Linked DNA regions of Homo sapiens: region 1 is linked to region 2. The links are contacts of gene promoters, found by promoter capture Hi-C in blood cells and fetal thymus (Javierre and others, 2016). All regions are on one chromosome and are shown on one strand. Each heading gives the region's core, a stretch centred on a gene start or on the middle of the fragment in contact. The rest is flanking DNA. Distances are from core to core; before and after follow the strand shown. Region 1 overlaps PTPRF (protein tyrosine phosphatase receptor type F). Region 2 holds the start of SLC6A9 (solute carrier family 6 member 9).

Region 1 (6,124 bases), core at 2,728-5,227, 490 kb before region 2:
AGCTATAGAGGGGGTGTCAGCAGGGGGCATGACATGATCCAGTGTGCACTGGTGAGAGATTGTGGAGGCCTGGACCAGGGAGGCAGTGACAGAAGTGGAGAGAAGGGATGTGAGTGCTATTTAGGGAGGTAGAGTAGACAGGACGTGGTGAAGGATTGAATGTGGGGCATGAAGGAGGGGAGGTGTCAAGGATGGTGCCTGAGTTTCTGGCTGGAGTGGATGATAGAGGTGGATGGGGAATGACATACAGCTCGTCAGCTACTGTAGGTGTGAAATAGGCTTCCGGGTGATGTCCTGGGACTTACACCAGGATCTTTCTTCTGCTTCTCCATTCGCCACGTTTCTGTAGAAAAGACTGTTCCCATCGACTGTAGGTTGTCGTAGAAAGAGCTTGGTGCCTGCAGGATCTGGGCATGTCCTCTGCATCTCTTTGATGTCCCCTTGTTCTCCTCTCTGTCTGTTAGAAGCACAGAATGGGTGGGCTGGAGTTGCAGGGAATGAGGTTGGTAAGTTGGTTTAGAGTCAGCATCATGGGCCTTGGATGTCAGGCTAAAGACTTTAGACTTTTTCCTGAGGGCAATACAGCAGCATTGAAGGTTCTTAAGCAGAGAAGCAATATCCATGTGTTGATCTGTCCATTGCCCATCCGTTCATTCTTTCACGGAACACTGTCTGAATGCCTGCTGTGAAATAAAGTGGCAAACAAAAGTGCAGATTTGCATTTTTATGTGCTGAAAGGTGGCACTGGTCTGTGTGCGGGATGGGTTGGGAGTGATTGAAGGCAGGAAGCCCACCAAAGAGGCAGGAAGTGATGAGGTCTTACTAACACAGTGGCAGTGAGGATGGAGGCAGGTCAGATTCAAACTTATTGATGGGTTAGATGTGTGGGATGAGGACAAGGGAGCATTTAAGGAGGGTTTGCGGGCTTGGTGACTGACAACATGGTGGTGCTGTCCCCAAGACTGGACACCCTGGAGGAGGAGTGGAATTGGGGCAGATGAGTTCTGGTTGGGCCATCCTGAGCCAAGAGCTCGGTGGGTCTGTTCACCCTCTGTAAGCTCCTCGAAGGCAGAGCCTGTGACTCTCTTGTTCATCACCCTGCCCACTGAACATCTGGACGGGTGGCTGAACTAACAAGGCTGTGGAAGAGATGGGTCTGGCCTGGGTAGGGGAAGGAAATGTGTATGTCCTGGGTGTCTCCTGGGGTCCAGACCCTACGTTTGGTGAGATGGGCACTGGGGTTATGTAGAGGGTGCAGCAAGAGGGGCTGTGTCACAGGCTGGAAAGGTCAGATGGGGAGGGTGGGTGTAGGGACACTATGTGTCCCTTTGCCTCTCCATCCTCAGATGATGGTCTGACCTAACTCGAAGTCCAGTCTTGCCAGAATAGGTACCTGAAGGTGGAGCCCTCTGTCCTCTCGGGAGGCCACTAGCTGATGGCATGTCTGGTGGGGTGCAGATGGGGTGTGCTATAGGACCTGACTTCTGGAGGCTGGGTAGGGCTGATGTGGGGGTACAGGGGAAGATACTCTGAGATCCTGAGGCCAGGCGCCAGCAAATACAGGAGTTAAGCCAGGTTGGAGCTTCCTTGGGTACAAGGCCCAGGGTGCCCACAGGGGATTGGGTTCTGGGGCAGGGGCCAGGTCAGGCTCTAGGCTCAATTGGCAAAGGATCTTGTTGTCTGTGTTGGGGTTTCTCAGCCTCAGCACCATTGACATTTTGGATCAGATAACCCTTATTGTGGGGGCAGGGCTTGTTATTGTAGGGTGTCTAGCAGCATCCCTGGTTTCTTCCCCCTAGATGCCAGTAGCATCTCCCCGCTTTCCCCAGTCTCGACAATCAAAAATGTCTCCAGTCGTTGCGTAATGTCCCATGGGGGCAAAATTACCCTGAATTGAGAACCTCTGGTCTACAGCCTCTTGCTGCTTTCACTATACTGTACAAACCTGGAAAATTGGGGAGGGTCAGTGGGGAAGATGGATAGTGATGGGCCACTTGAGCAGAGTTCTGAGGGGTGAGTGAGTGCTGGGGCAGGAGAAGGACATTTTTTTCCAATAGACAGAACGGCAGGTACAGAGGCTTGGAGGCACAAAGTTGGGAAACAGTAATCCAAGGGGGACCCCAGCCCCAGAGGAAGGGGCCTGGAGGCTTAGGGGTTACAGCCGCAGGAAGATACCTCTGCTGGTCCCCTTTGGTCATTTGCCTCCAGAGTTAGTCTCCTGCTGACCCTTTGCCGCCTCCAAGTCTCTGCGACACTCCTCCTAATCTCCCCCTCCACTCCTCAGTGAGATGGAGAAACTGAGAGCTGCAACAGGGTGGGACTCAGTCCAGCTGGTGGGAGCCCCGATACCAGCCGTGGGAGGGAGGGCTGTTCCTGGCTCTGCTCACGGATTCTGGCCAACTGGCTGGAGGAGGGAAGGCGGCCTCACCCTCTTCCCCACAGGCCCCTCCTTCCCTGGGTCAGGGGTCCTGGCTGAGACTATAATTTATTCCCGTCATAATCCAGTGGTTGGTTTGGTGAGAGCTGGAAACATGTTGGTTTTCCCTTCCCAAGTATAACAAGGCCTGTTTCCGCCTCCGCGGCCGCTGCTGCAGTGCCACGCGGTGAACTGTCCAGGACATGACAAAAGGGCTCGGTTAGCTGCCCGCTGGTTAGAAGATGAACGGCTCAGAGCTCTCCCTGCCGACAGGCTCTTCCCTTCCTGTTGCCCAAGTGCTGGCCTTTCCTCTTGGCCGTCTGCTCTGTAGGGCCCTGGATACCCCTCCTTCTGCTCATGTCCATTTCTGGGCCCCAGGGTCCTGGCCTGGGGAGGTGAGATGGGGGAGGCTACAGAAACAGGTGGTATTTGGAGACTAATTAATATTTGTGAATAATAATGCATGCCCAAGGAAAACAAATCAATCTGTGTTTGCGTATTTATGATGAGGACTCAGGAATGATCCCAGCTGTTCTCCAGCCAGGGAAGCCCCCATCACATGGTCCCTTGGGCCCCCACAGAGGCTGGCAGGGTGGTTAGGGTGGGCTGCATGGAGGTGACATGGCTTCTGTGTTTTGCAACGTGAATCTTCTGTGACGTTCATATGCGAATGCTGTGGCTTGGTCTAGTGCCTGCTTCTTCCTTTTCCCTCAAAGCAGTGATTCCCAGGCTCTTTGGTTTCACGAACCAATACAATTTCCAAAAGTACTCAAGAGCCAGACATGGGGTTGGCAATTTTTTATTTTGCCAAGTAAAGGCATTATAAAAAAACAACTGCTATCTGCTGTCCCCATCATTTCATACAGGAAAGAACATTTTAACACCAAGGACAATATTTGAGAATAAAGGACAGTTCTTCCCAAGAAAGGGCAGTTGGCAGCTTTACACTGACGTAGCAAAGGAAAAGGATATATTAAAACCATTCTGAATGTGGAAAAATTGTGTCCAATTATATTCTATAATATCATACCGTATGTAATTGTGTTCCTGCCCAAGTATGTCAGCTTGGCAGAACGGATGGTCCACAGTGCAATTCAGAGACGAGCTTGAGTGCCCCAGTGCTCCGGCCTTGTTTTTATCTCGGTTGTTGAAAGCCCAGGCTCACCCAGCCATGCTGGTGAAGTGGGTGTTCTGCTGTGAACACCGTTGCATGGATTCACAAGATGCTCAACCTCGCAACCGCAGTCAGGCTAGCAGCAGCCCTGCCCCTTGTTCCTCTCCCACCTTCTCCCCACAGGTGACCCTGGGACCCTGGGACTCTGGGGGCCAAGGTCTACTCTTGAGGCCAGGCCTGGGGATCCAGGGCTGCTCTGCTCTGATGAGGGAGGCCCTGGAGCTGGGAGTGGCCTGAACCGCCTGACACCAGGGCAGGCTCTGTGCCCGGAGTCTCAGGGCGGGAGGCAGCTTGCTCTCGCCAGGAGCTGGTGAGGGAGAGGCCCTGGCTCGTACAGCTGTGTGGCTGCCAGAGTAGTTGCCTGAGAATGTGTTTGTGTGTGTCCCTTGTGTTTCCCCATCTCCCTGGGCATCTGTGTCCTTGTGTCCATCATGGACCACTGGAAGAAGCTCTCTGTTCTACTTTCTGGATCTGAACAAAGTGTCCTGAGCACCCCAACCCAGATACACAGGGGGTTTCTGGAGGCCCCACGTTGGGGGTAGGGTTACCTGAGGCCCAAGTTCTCCAACACCCATGGCCAGACTCTCATCCAGGCTTGTACCACATGGGTGTCTATTCTGGGAGTTTTACCCCCATGATGGCTCTCCTGGGAGCTCTGCCCCCACCATGAAGTCTGTAACAGCACGTTACACCTCTGCTAATGTATGGGGAGTTGCACCCCTGTAATGTCCTTATCAGGCAGCTGCACTCCATGATGTCTGTACCCTCTGTGTCCGCCCACGTGATGTCTAGACCACACCATTACACCTCCATGATGTCTGCACCTGGGCGTTATACTGCTATGATTACTGCACCAAGGCGGCTACAGGGGATTAAGCCTCTGCTCATTGTACTGGGGAGCTATATCCCATGATGACGGTGCTGTGCATTTTATTTTCATAGCAGGGAGATATGCTCATGCTGGGGGCCTATGTCCCTATGAAGCCTGCCTGGCAGGGGTTGCATGCTTGGAATGCTTGTTCCTGGAAGTTAACCTCTGTGACTATTATATTGTTATACCCGATGATGCCGGTACGAGGCCACTGTGCCCTGTCCTTTGGTGCAACACAGCTGTTGAGTTATAAACTCATGTGTCTCATTCAGGGGCTCCAGGATGGTCCATCAGGGGACCATACCCCCATGATGACCTGGCCTGGCATAGGATACCAGATGTGTCCACAGGCCCAGGGAGGAAGAGCCACTCATAGTCCACCACCTGATGGCCGCTGGGAAGGTGCTCCATCGTTGGCTGCATGTGGCACCATAGCGCAAGCTCAGGCAGGGCCTTGGTGATGTGTGACCTCCATCCCACTGTGGCCTTGCAGGCGTCATTGTGGTCTCAGCCACCTCAGCTCTGGGATCGTGGAGCAGATCCATCCCCAGCTTGGTGTAAATGGGGCTGGACACCTATCAACGTTCTTACTTGAAGAACTGGTGTAAATGAAGGCTGGACACCCTTCACCGTTCTTACTTTGTTGTTCAGCTCCTGTCTCAGATTTTTGGTGGGATCCTGGGACAGGGGACAACTCTCACCCCTTTTCCTTTGTGTTTGGCCCCATCCCACTTTGCATTCCCACCTGCTTTGTCCAACACCTTTGCTCAACTGCTGCCTTCTGACCTCATGAACTTTGATTATCTCAGTTGAGACAAGGGTTCAAATTTCAGAAACGACTGGAGCACCTTTGAGCCCTGCCCATTCCTGGTCACCTGCCCTGTCACCTTGCAAATTCTCTTACTATTGTGGGTCAGCGGGGACCTGGGTCTGATCACAACTCCCCTATCAAAGTCCATGCGTATCACTGTGGGGCCCCAAGGCGTGTTCACCGTCATGCACTCTGCTCTGTTGCGTCTTCACAGCATTCATGAGGGATCGACCACGTCTCACCCCTCTGCCCAGAGCATGGTGTGATCAGAGCTTGTGGGCCCTTCCATACATCCCCTGGTGCCCCCCAGGTGAGGGGTATGGGAGAGAGACCCTGGGGAGCTCACCAGTGGGGCCAGGGAGTGATAGCAGCGTATCTCCCATGTATAGTGCGGCCATGCTAGAGGCTTCACCCAGGTGCCTGCAGGCACTTCAGGCCAGGAGCCTTGGAAGTAAAGGCCTAGGGGCATTCAGCCAGTCCCAGACGCTACTCAGTCTTTTTGTGCATAGCTTCCTGTCTCAAACATCAGCCCCTGAGGTTCACACCCCATCATCCCTACACTTGTTTGGCTCCGGGCTTCTGGGGCAAGGGCAGAAGAGATGTGAGGTTTGAATTCTAGGGTCTAACACCCCATTCCTGGCCACTGAGGCCTCCCTGTGGTTTCTCTGTGAAGTAGGAAGGTGCCATGGGAATGGGTAGGACGAGGGTGGCCAGGCAGGGCAGCAGCAGCTTGTCAAGAGCACGTCCTGGTGAGCACTGAGGGGTTGTGGCTTTGGCTGGAAGCCTCTGATACCTGGAGCCTGTCTTCTGCTAACAAGCCTGTGTTCAGGGGCCTGTGCTCAGCGTGCTCGT
Region 2 (6,347 bases), core at 72-2,571:
GGCCGGCGGGCAGGGGCGCGGTCGGTCTGGGAGCAGCGGCACCGCCCGCAGCGTCCCGGTTCCTCGAAGTGGGGCGCGTCCGCTTTAATCGGGGAGAGAGATGTGGGGGCACGGGCGTTACATCAGCCGCCACGTGTGGGCCTAAGCTGGCGTGGAGGCGGCGGCCCCGCCCCCGGCCCCTGCGGTGGAAAAGTACCGGGGCGCCGAGGTCCCCGCCCCACGGCCCCGCCCCCGGGCCGGCACCGGCCCCTCCCGGCCCTCCGGGCAAGCCCCACTCTCCCGCCCGGCCCGGCCCCGCCGCCTGCTCGAGATCTGCAGTGGCTGCCGGGTGCGGAGCGCCGGCCGGGGGTGGGCTCTCCAGGGCTGCTAGGCCCCTGCCCTCACCTGCGGCCGCCCGGCCCCGCCCTAGGTGTGCCGGTAATGAGGGTTGGGGTGGGGAGGGCACGGATTCTTCCCAGGGTAGCAACCCCCAGAGAACTCCCGGCTCGCTCGCAGTCCCTTCCCAAAGCCGCGGCCAGAGCGCGGACAAAGAGAGGCTGAGTGCGCCAGGACTCTCCCGCGCGGCTTCCCGGGTCCCGCGGGCGCACGGGCACTGGAACCGGCACCGGGAGGGCAGATAGGGAGGCAGGCCGGCTGGAGGGGCCAGATAGGCAGCCAGGCTGGCGGGCGCTGAGAGGCGATGGAGCGAGCGGGAGCCCGCACGCTGGGTGCAGGCACGGCCGACTGTCGACCCCTGCAGGCCCCCAGAGCGCAGAACCACTGGCTCCTCGGACGGACAGTGCCACGCTCTGGCTCCGGCGCTACCCGCACAGCCTGCGCCCGCCGCCCCCGATCGAACCGGCGTCTGGCGCCCCCCCGCCACCCCACGCAGGAGCTCCCCCCACTTCCCTCTCCCTCCCGCTTCAGCTCCTTGGTGACAGCGGTGACACCCAGACGCGCGCACCTACCCCGATCTTTGCGGCGAGACAGACATCCCGGTGCGTGCACCCACACTCTTACCCACAGATGCCCGCATACATGCGCGATCACACACACACACACACACACACACACACACGCACACGCTGGTCCTGGGGCTCAGCCCCGCGGAGCCGCCGAACACTCAGACCGACGGCAGGACAGACGGAGGCGCGGGCCCCAGCGTCCCTTCCCCCAGCCCCCTTACCATGCTGCAGCCCCCGGCCCAGGCGTGCTGGGTCCGCACCGCGGTGCGCCCAGGTGGCTTTCTTAAAGGGAAAGTTGCATCAGCCTCCCGAGGCTCTGTGCCGCGCCGAGTTCGCCCGCCCCGCCGCGCCGCTCGCAGCTCTTCCACAGCCTGTTGTGTTTTGGTTTCGGGGAGGCGGGGGCTAAGAGTTTGGTGAAAGTTTGAAGAGTGGAGAAGGCTTGGGAGATCTAGCCAAGTCCCTCCCCTACCCGAACGGCTCCCCTGGCCGTCCTCCCCTCTCCATCCCATCCCCTCCTCCCGTGCCGACTTCTCAGGCTCCTCCTCCCAGGGAATAAAATTACAAGTCTCTCCAGCTTTCAGATGATTGATCCCCACGAACCCCTGGGAGTGAGCGCCACAAAGGAGTCCCCTTCTCCGCCCCTGCCTCGCTGCCCTCCAGCTGGGGCCCTTGAGCAAGCAGATGTGGGCCCCTTCGGGCTAGGCTGGAATGAAGCCAGAAGGCCTGGGGCACTATGGGGGGCTGAGGCTGGAGTTAGCCCTCCAGGCCCCTGGCCTTCTGCGCCTGCGTTTCCCCTAGAGAGAAGTCAGAGCAAATTCCATTCCCTTTGGAGCAGAGCCGCTAGAGACTGTGGGCATTGCTGGGTAAGGCCTAGGTCCTACTCCTTGGAACTGGAGGGCTCGGGGTAGCCCTTTCTCAAATTTCCCTCCTGGACCACCGGCTTGGTCAGCTCTACTTTTGAGGTGGTGTTACAGGGGCTGCAGACACCAACCTGGGATCCCTCCTCCTTCCATGGTGAGACAGACCTGGGTTACAATCTCAGCTAAAAAAGAGTCTTTGCCAAAAGGAGCATGGTGAGCCTCGGTTTCCTCCTCTGTGAAACAGAGAGAAGGGGCTAAGGAAATGCATGTGTGTGTATATAAAGCCCATTGCTCCAGGCTGCCTCTGGGGAGTGGTGGCTGGCATTTGGAATGAGCCTCCCACATTTGCATACCTTGTGAGAGCCACCACCTTTCATGGAGAGTGGCCAGTTAGTTCTGTCAGAGGAACTGGTTTTTGCCCCAACCTGAGTAGGGCATCTGCTCAGGGAAGGGGCCCAGCCCACAGAGGCAATTTCTACTTTGGACCCTGAGTCCTCACCATTTTCTGGCCAGGAAACAGTTTAATTTTTTTCCTTGGGACAGTCAGCCTCCAAGAAGCGAGTGCACACATGCCAAACTCACGTGAAACCAATTGTTGAGTGAGATTCCAGTTTATTAATTTATCAGAGGCACTGAACAAGATAACAGGCATCAAGCCCAGGCATTCCCTGAAATGCGAGCTCTCTCAGGCCACACGCGGTCCATTCCACAAACCTTCCTCAGAGCCAAAGTACAAAGACAGCTCTCTGTTGTCTCCTATTCACATTGGACTCCTGATCAGATCTGGGAAGACACCTTAGTCTTATCAGCGAGATTATTTTCACTTTTACTTTGTCCCCAAACCTAGTAGGTATAGCATGTTTGGGATTTTTAGTCTCCTACAAGCCAAGTGCAGGTGTTTCTTGCGTGAGTTGTGTGCACACACACCTGGATCTAGGCAACCTGTTGTGTCTGTGCCCCCAGACACCTGAGCCCCGATTGTGTATTTGTGTAGGTACATCTGTGGAAGACTGATTGTGTGCACTGCAGCAGGTCTGTGTAGTTATGTGTGTGCTCAATTCCTGGGACTGGGCAGATGGGGTCCAAGCCCTCTATATCTCTCCTGCCAGGACGTAACTTCCTCCATAAGTTTTTTTTAGGATCTTCCTCCTTGCCTCCTCGCTGGGGCTCATCAAAAGGGATACCACCCCAGGGAAGGCAGATGGAGGATGTCGAAGAGGCCCCCAAGTAGAGGAAGGCGGACAAGGAAGAGTATGAAGGGGAAAAGGCCTCCCTCCTTCTCCCTTCCAGCAGTAGGCTGGGGTGGGGACAGGCCTAGAAGAGGGCACTGAGCGCTAAGAACACTCAGTGAAGATTCCGAGAGTTTTCATGGCTCAGGGAATCCATATGAAGGGAGGCAGGTGTAGGGTGCTGCAAGCCAGACTTCCAGGATGCCCTCAGGCCTAGGGGCTTGGGGCCTGGGCTGTTAGAAGAGAGGAGGATGGGTGCTCAGGGGCCAGCCCTCTGAGGCTCCGTCAGAAAGAGGAAGGCTTGGGGACTAACCTAGGGACAGGGACGTGGGGTGAAGAGAAAATTTTCCTTGGAGTGTTTAGGGAGATTGGGGATGTTGGCCAGAGGGCTTTATTAGACTAACACTGGCATAGCTCAAAGTCTATTTGTATACATAGAAACAGATTCATGGATATGTGTGTTTTACCCACCTTGAACCAGAAAGAGCTTCAGGAAACCACACAGCTGTGTCCTGAGGAGACACTTGTGAGAAAGATTCTGGTTTGAAAAGTCATCTTCCTGAGACAGGGACTAGAGAGGCTGTTTTTTTCCAATCAGAATGAGGCCCAAAGGAGGCAGGTTTGGGCCCAGCCCGGGTGGGAGCTGGGATAGCCTCCGTCCCTGGCTGTGAGCCCCTGGCTCTGAGCAGCTGGCCTGCAGGGTGGGAAGGGCATGGCCAGCCTGGGCCACTGTGGGGCGGGCAGGGGGATCAGGACTGAGGACAGACTGGGGCAGGGGAGGGGATGGGGGACGGACGGGGTCAGACATTTTGACGGGCCTGCTTCTTCCTGGGGCAGGGCAGCAGTTGGGCTGGGGCCCACCCACCACCCACTGCAGGCTGAAATGTGGCTCAGGAGCCTCCAGTTACTGCAGCCAGTGGAGCTATTTCCTGGGAGGGCTGCATCCAGCGTCAGAGCCCCCAGGGCTGGCTGGTTTCCTCGAGTGGTGTCATCAGCCTGCAGGATCAAGGCCTCTGTTTCGAGATGCACATAGTCAGCTTAGGTGTGTGTCTAGTAGGAATATGAATAATGCCAGACTTGGGCCACTTCTGGTGGTCACTGCAGGAGCTGGCAGCACTGGGCACCTTGATGGAGTGGTGCTGGGGGCCTGCTGAGAAGGTGGGGGAGGGTGGACATTGCCTGTAGTTGAAGCCAGGCCTGGCCAGGGGTCTCCACCTCCTTAGAACCCCAGCCTCAGTAGCCAGGAAGCATTACTGGGAGGTGCCTGCCTGGGCTCTGCTCTCAGATTCTTCCTTTCTTGAACCTGGAGCCCAGTGGTCAGTGCCTGGCACCTCCACTGCCCTGTCCCAATGCAGAGGAGCAGGTTAGATTGGTTTCAGACCTGAGAGCTGTCTCTGGGGCTCCAGGTACCCCTTAGGCCATCCTGTTGTGGTTTCTCTACCCCTGAAACCCCGCCACCCCAGCCCTGCCACCCCAGCCTTGGGGCAGCATAAGCCAATCATGGGGTTCAGAACAGGGGTTCCGGGCTGGACCTCAGTGGCTCCAGGTAAAATCAGGCATATAGACAGGAAGTATTGACTTTGGCGTTGTCCAAGGGGCAGCCCCAATCTCCAGAGCTTTCAACACCCAGACTCCTCAATCGCTTTGAGCTCCCAAAGTCCTGAATTCCCAATGTCAAGGGTGCCAGAGCACCCAACACTGTAGAGGACCCAAAACCCAGAGCCCCCAGTGCCAAATTCCAGGGGGCCTGGGGTACCCAACATCCAGAGCACCCAATGTTCATAACATTCCATTTTCAGAGTGCCAGTGTTCCAATTCACTGCACCTGGAGGGAGGGAGTGGGGTCCCTGCATAACCAGGGTCCCTACATAACCGAGGTCCCTTCAGTGACCTATTATCTGAGGAGTGGCCATGACTGAAGTTGGGGCTGGGGTGGTGCTGGCAGTTGTAGTTCTTCCTCGATGCTCCCATCCTGGGTCTGGAGAGGTCGAGCAGGCTTGCAGGTGGGATGGCGTTCCCTCTGGCCTCAGCCCAGCCTGGTCACAGGCCCTGTGGCACTGAATGTCCATTTATTCACTCACCAAATATTAGTGCGCATCTGCCATGTGCTGGGAATTGAGCTCCTCTCTGGGAGTACAACCGTGAGAGAGAAGGGGTTCCTGTTCTCCCAGATGGGACAGGTGACATTGTGCCTGTGCTGGTATGTCCGTGTGGTTCAGCCATCTGTGGCCCACGTGTAGCTGTGGGCATGGCTATGAGAATGAATGGCTGTGAGTGTGATGGTGTTGGCGTGAGGCTGTGCCTGCAGCCCACATCAGCAAGTTAATGTGTGTGACTATTATGGTGGGTCTGGCTGTGTCCGTCTGTCTGGCCATCCTAATAATCTCTCTTTGCCTCACTGCTATTTCAAGGATTGGAAGTAAGGCCCCCCTTCCCCTCAGACCCGAGGTACTGAGGGTCAGGCCTCACTGTAGGGAGGAACAGGCTGGTTCCTGAGCTAGAGACTGACCCCAGAGCTGCCCTGCTGCAGGGCTAAAGATTTCTCCTACTGCTCCTGCCCCTGCTGGACCCAGAGCCTCTTTGGATTGGGAAGACAGGAAGAGGGGTGGCTATAAGCCGAGCAGTCGACACCAAAAATAGCCATCTGCCCTGGGGAGGATCCTCTGGCACCACTCTCTCCTCCAGTCCAGCCCAACCCGGCCCACTGACTTGGAGCCTCAGTAGGGCTCCTGTCTGACTCCACTTCCCCAACTCTTATCTGAGTAACCCTCTCAGACTCAAAGGAGGGACACAGCAATGATGTCACTACAAATTATGGCATCATAAAGAGCTCTGGCAGCATCACAAGGAGTGACCCCAGACCGCGGGCGGGGCTCCATCTGCTGGTAGCTCCCCAGCAGGGATGGCAGGGCTGGATAAGCCCTGCGTGGGGCCCTGCCTTATCTGTCCCCCACACATATGTGATAAGCCTCTTACCATGGGCTGGCCCAGGGAGCAGGTGGGGAGCAGGCCGGAAGAGGGGAAAGGCCAGCTGGGGCTGGCTGAACTCCAGGGAAGAAAGCCAGGGTCAGGGAGTCCTGGCAGAACCCCAGCAAGGGGAGATGCAGGGTCACTGTTGGGGGCAGTGTGGAGCTGTGGTTAGGGCCATGGATTCTGAAGCCAGGCTGCCTGCATTTGTATTCCAGGTCTCCACTTAATGGCTATGTAAGCAGACCTCAGCTTCCTCAATATTCCTCACCAGGAATACTATTAATATTAGCAGTGACTATCAACCACGGTATTGTTGTGGGGATTAAAGGATTTAATGTGTGTGA

What was found. The method cuts DNA at HindIII sites, captures the fragments that hold promoters and counts their contacts. A CHiCAGO score of 5 or more calls a contact.
Region 1: a contact is called between a fragment that was not itself captured here and the fragment with the promoter of SLC6A9 in region 2, in 3 of 17 cell types (naive B cells, total CD4 T cells and naive CD8 T cells). The highest score is 6.9, in naive B cells.

The regions. Positions count from the first base shown.
Region 1 is chr1:43,538,372-43,544,495 of GRCh38, forward strand. The region is part of intron 2 of PTPRF (protein tyrosine phosphatase receptor type F); the gene reads left to right. Among named protein-coding and RNA genes, the nearest start is that of PTPRF, 11 kb to the left of the region's middle. The HindIII fragment of the contact is 9,596 bases long and covers 1-6,124 here.
Region 2 is chr1:44,030,141-44,036,487 of GRCh38, forward strand. SLC6A9 (solute carrier family 6 member 9) reads right to left here and starts at 1,322. Exons shown (of 14, transcript NM_001024845.3): 1 at 1,166-1,322. LOC107984948 (a long non-coding RNA gene) reads left to right here and starts at 274. Exons shown (of 2, transcript XR_007066054.1): 1 at 274-409. LOC124904168 (a long non-coding RNA gene) reads right to left here and starts at 5,634. Exons shown (of 4, transcript XR_007066055.1): 1 at 5,543-5,634; 2 at 5,115-5,285; 3 at 3,505-4,180; 4 at 2,403-2,587. RefSeq lists silencers at 1-473, 794-863, enhancers at 456-1,052, 4,571-6,347, 5,909-6,053 and a cis regulatory region at 5,972-5,989. The HindIII fragment of the contact is 12,509 bases long and covers 1-6,347 here.